2 separate regions of the Homo sapiens genome follow, and region 1 is linked to region 2. The links are contacts of gene promoters, found by promoter capture Hi-C in blood cells and fetal thymus (Javierre and others, 2016). All regions are on one chromosome and are shown on one strand. The core of a region is centred on a gene start or on the middle of the fragment in contact, and the rest is flanking DNA. Distances in the headings are between cores, read along the strand shown. Region 1 has its middle 47 kb from the start of LINC02503. Region 2 holds the start of LINC02428 (long intergenic non-protein coding RNA 2428).

Evidence for each region. Contacts are between HindIII fragments. The CHiCAGO score rates a contact against its expected background, and 5 or more counts as called.
Region 1: a contact is called between a fragment that was not itself captured here and the fragment with the promoter of LINC02428 in region 2, in 1 of 17 cell types (erythroblasts). The highest score is 6.6, in erythroblasts.

Annotation. Positions count from the first base shown.
Region 1 is chr4:103,913,055-103,915,754 of GRCh38, forward strand. No RefSeq gene overlaps it. Among named protein-coding and RNA genes, the nearest start is that of LINC02503, 47 kb to the right of the region's middle. The HindIII fragment of the contact is 1,465 bases long and covers 686-2,150 here.
Region 2 is chr4:103,423,606-103,426,305 of GRCh38, forward strand. It overlaps LINC02428 (long intergenic non-protein coding RNA 2428), which reads left to right and starts at 1,437. Exons shown (of 4, transcript NR_125925.1): 1 at 1,437-1,580. RefSeq lists an enhancer at 1,165-1,666. The HindIII fragment of the contact is 12,082 bases long and covers 1-1,956 here.

The DNA.
Region 1 (2,700 bases), core at 168-2,667, 490 kb after region 2:
CTATGCTATTAGGTGTACATTTAAGATATATAATTGTGGTATCTTCCTAATGGAAGTCCCCTCAAACTTTATGAAATATACCTTTTATCTTTAATAAAGCATATTGCCTAGATGTCCGCTTTTTCTAATGTTAATGTTAGAAAACTACATTTGCTTGCTTTTGGCTATTTTTGCATGGATTTTGGGTTTTACTCTCATTATGGATAGACTAAATGGGGCATTTCTGCCCAGAAAGAAGTTCCAATAATGAATAATCTTTGGTTTGGGGCTTTTTAGTGAGTTACCAAAGATATTTTTTTCCTAGCTACAGTACAGTTTGACTCTCCCCTAACCCAGCAGCCTCCTTCTTTCATTTCATATGTCTAAGAACTGCTTCATCTATAAATATTCCTAGTGTTCCTTCCTTCATCATTAATAAATGGTTTCTGCAATAACTGTGCATTTCTATTTTGGTATTTTATTTGAAATTCATCCTTGATTAATGTGATTCTGATTCCTCTAACATTATCAATAGTACTTTTATCAGTTAGTAGCAAGAAGAATTGTAAAGTAAATTTGGTGAATTCATTGTTGCTCATAAATGACAAATCTTAAAATCATATTTTTCAGCAAAAACTCTTGAAAATTAATAGATGACGTTTTAGGCCTAATTATGTGGCTAGTGAGAAGAGGTGGTTCAAATATAAGCTTCTAACTGTAAATTTACTGAGACTCCACCATGCTTCAAAATACTCTATGTCTGAATAATTTATATAGATGTTAACACAACTTATAGAACAAGAAATTTATTATATATGTATAGCAAAAAAGAATGGGATGCTGTTGTTTGAAAGCAGAGTTTCTTGTATTTGAGGTAGAATTAATCTAAGGTAGAATTTTTCAACACAAAATTTCTGGTTTATAAACAAATAGGCATGTTTACATTAAATATTAAATATACCAGAAGATTTATAACTAATTATTTAAATCCCTGTAGTTTTCCACTAAGAACTTTGTGAATGCCAATCAAGTTATTTTTATCATGCCTATGTTTCTATTTATTGTCACCTTCATTAATCACTCAGAAGATAGTGATTACAGGTATTGTGCTATTACTCTTCAGTTTTATAAGGCAAATGTTATTAAGCATCATTTTTTAAAGACTAAAAACACACTGAAAAAAGAGTTTCGTTTTCTGTTCCTGTGTTAGTTTGCCAAGGATAATGACTTCCAGCTCCATCCATGTCCCTGCAAAAGACATGATCTTGTTCCTTTTTATGGCTGCATAGTATTCCTTGGTGTATATGTACCACATTTTCTTTATCCACTTTATCATTGATGGTCATTTGGGTTCATTCCATGCTGAACAATGAGAACACATGGACACAGGGAGGGGAACAACACACACTGTGGCCTGGTGGGGGTAGGGGGAGGGAAAGCATCAGGATGAATAGCTAATGCATGCAAGGCTTAATACCTAGGTGATGGGTTGATAGGTGCAGCAAGCCACCATGGCACATGTTTACCTACATAATAAACCTGCACATCCTGCACATGCATCCTGGAACTTAAAATAAAACTTTAAAAAAAGTTTTGAAATTATGTTTTTCCTAGACTTTTGGGTCCATGAATATCACTCTGTTGTCCTAGGGAATACCTCTTAATAAAAACAGCTTTTTCGGAGTAATGAATCAGAGAAGGCAGGAGTGATATTTATGTTTTTTTAAAAGTGTGATAGTGCCTTTACAAGTTGTATACTTAGACATATTCTTCCACTACAAAGAAGTAGATGCTCTGGGAGCTCATGTAATTTCAGAAATCTAGGAGATTCATGATGTTTATTAAGTTATTTATTTATTTATTTTTTTGATGGAGTCTCGCTCTGTCACCCAGGCTGGAGTGCAGTGGCGTGATCTTGGCTCACTGCAACCTCTGCCTTCCAGGTTGAAGTGATTCTCCTCCCTCAGCCTCCTGAGTAGCTGTGATTACAGGCATGTGCCACCATGCCCGGCTAATTTTTGTATTTTTAGTAGAGACAGGGTTTCACCATGTTGGTCAAGGTGGTCTCGAACTCCTGACCTCGTGATCTGCCTGCCTCAGGCTTCCAAAGTGCTGGAATTACAAGCGTGAGCTACAGCGCCAGGCCAAAGTTCATCTTTAATGTATCCACAAGCTTCTGATTGTATGCAGGCATATCAAATATCTACATCTGGCTTCGTTCTTTCTTTTTCTCACTAGTGCTATTACTATGTGGTGTTTTACACAATAAAAATTATCTCAATAATGAATATCATGATGGAATTTCAAATGGCTTATTTTTTACTATTGAGAACTAACAGGCAATAGAACTGGAAGTCAGAAATGAACACAAGTGGCATGTGCCCTCTAGTGGACAGAAGACAGTAAAAACAAACAAAAAACAAAACCAAACCAAACAAAACTAAAACAAAACAAAACAAAACTACAGTTTGCCCTCCGTAACTGTGAGTTCCTCATCTGGGGATTCAACTAACTGTGAATCAAAAGTATTTAAAAAGTAAAAAATTAAAAATTAAAACAATGCAATAATAAAAATAATGCAAATAAAAAATACAGAATAACAACTATTTACATAGTATTTATGTTGTCTTTGGTTTTTGCTTTGAAGACAGGTTCTCACTTTATAGCCCAAGCTGGAGTGCATTGGTGCAATCAGGGCTCACTGTAGCCTCCATCTCCCAG
Region 2 (2,700 bases), core at 187-2,686:
TTAAGAACAGGAGAGCTGAGAGCTGAACTACTGGAAGGGTAGCTTCACTGCTATGTTAGGCTTGCTTCTTCACCTGAAAGTTCTTTCAGAATCTTGGTTGTGTGTTACCTGCTGTGCATTCTAGCCCTGCACATGATATTTGTCTCCTAGACTGACTGCTTCTTATTCCTTTTCCCTTTCTGGTAAGCAGTATAGGTTAGTGGTGGGGAGTGCAGGTTCTGGAAGCAGAAAGTCTGGGTTTAAATCCTGGCTGGCCTACTTATTAGCTGTGTGATCCTGAGCAAGTTATTTAACTTCTGTCAGTCTTTTTATCCTCATTCATCAAGTATAAATAGCAGTGGTACCTATCCCACAGATTTGTTATAAAAATGCAATGACATCACCTCATAAAAGTATATCATGACCATGCTAAGCATGTTAAGTGGTTGGAAAATGTTAATAATTATTATTAATTTCTTATTGTTTTGACTCATATCTAGATCTATCAATGTATGTAATCACAATGCTTGGCACATAGAACACACAGAACTCAGCTCACTTTTTTGTGCATAAAGATATGTAATTATGTAACTTTGTGTATGTGTATGTGTGTGTTATGTTTGTGTGATTTGTGAAGGTGTTGTGCAGATAAAATCTTTTTACAGAAATGCCCAAGGCCCCTGGATTTCTGCCTCTTAGAGAAAGATTATTCAAGTGGACTATATTTGCAAAACCAATTTTCTAAGAAACCAGATTTTTAAAAATAAATTTCTAAAATCCCTATGTTGTCTTTTATTAAAATTATATATTTCTCTTGGTCTTTTAGTATACTGTACATAGACTGTGTTATTTTGTTAGATTTTCCCCAGTTATTTCTTTTTGGGGGAGCAGATATTAGTAAAAGATAAAATGGCACCCAAGAATATTTTTCAAGAACAAAATACATGGCTTAAGAAAAAGAATAACCTGTCTGAGGAATGGTAGGAAGGACATTTGGAAATGAACATGCCTCAGTGTTGAGGAAGATGCTGACCAGAAATGTGTAAGCAATCTGGAGACAAACTGTTGCTTTCTTTATAATTTTACTCCTATTCAGTTCTGGTTTCATCTTTCCATTAATACATATTCACTTTATAATGTAGGGAGCACTCTTTCTTGCCTTTGGGATTTAAGTAATTGAAGTTAATCTTTTTGAAAGAGATCTCAGTTGGATTGATCTAAGATTGAAAAGGTCATTAAGAGGAAATTAATAAAAGGGAACTCTTTAAGGTGGGTAACGCAGGTATTATAGTCTTAGCCCCTGGAATATGACCCAGTGGGCAGAGTAAGCCCTGGCAAAGCAAGGCACACAGCCAAATGTTAGCTTTTCACATGCAAAAACAGGATTATGCAATAGTACAGACTTTGCAAGTCTATTGTTTACAGAAGGAATTAAGCAACATTTGTTTACCTACTTCATTATTATACCAGCAATCCAGCCTGAAGGACTTAGCTCATAGATGTCTTCTGAAATGTGGAAGAAATACTTTCGTTTGTCATAAAACCTCAGCAGGAGATTGGAGTCTGGAAGAGGGAGGGGAGAAGAGGAGGACCTCAGGGAGGCAAGTTAAACAGTCCAGTTTTTGCATCTTAATTTCCTTCTCTGTGCTTTTGTCTTTCAAGGGGTGGTGCCGGGCACAGGTATTTTAGATAAATAAGTGGGATGGCAAGAGAAGGACCTTTTTACTGCTTACCCATTTATTGGGTGACAATCCAGTATGCTGTCCAGAATGCAATATTTTTGAGAGTAAAAGAAATCATACTGGGCCAGATCATAAAACCCAGCATTTTTTAGACAAACTGATATAGTGTATATGGTTAACTTACTTTGTACGAAGAAGGTATAACAAACTCACTTTAGAGGACAGTGGTACAGTCTGATAGAGTGAGTACCCAGTTAACTCTCTGTGTGTTATGTCAGCTGGCTTTGTATCAGGAAGCTTCTGGTGAGTTTAGGTGACCCCTTAGCAGAGGCAGGTGGAAAATTCCAGGCTAGGAGGCTGGATGGAGTAGATGGTAAACACTCAAGGGTCAGTGGTCTATGATGAGAGCACAAGCCAAGAACCAACCATGAGGATTCCAAGGGGAGCCTGGGTTATCAGAAGCCATTAGAGCTGCAGTGACCAGATTAAAAAGGACATTGCCCCAAGAGTGTCTGCATGAAATAAGGGATATCCTTGCTTGTTTGTGACCCAAGGATATGTAAGCCATACATTTTTCCCTTTATATCCCTCAATGTTAGAGAGAGAAACAGAAAATATGGTGGCTATATGGGATATGAAATATTTGTATTAATAAAAATGTTAATAGAAATTGCATGGCCTTTTAATTTATGGTGTGGGACTAAATTTAAACTACAAATGTAGTTGAGTTTCTATTTTGTGGAGAGATTATTTATGAACAAAATAAAGGAGTTACAACTCTTTATAAATAAGTCATACTATAAAATGTGTGACCCTCCTTGTTGCATTTAAAAAGGCTATATATTTTTTGATAGTGAGATCTTTTCCCTCTGTATTTCTCTCCAAAAATCTTAATAATGTCACCATTTTATTAAATCATTTGATAGGATCAATACTTTATATGAACTATCTCATCTGAGCAGCCCCAAGAAACCTGTAAAACAGGCATTATTGTCCTATTTTATAGGTAAATTAGCCAAGGATAAGATAAATCGAAGGG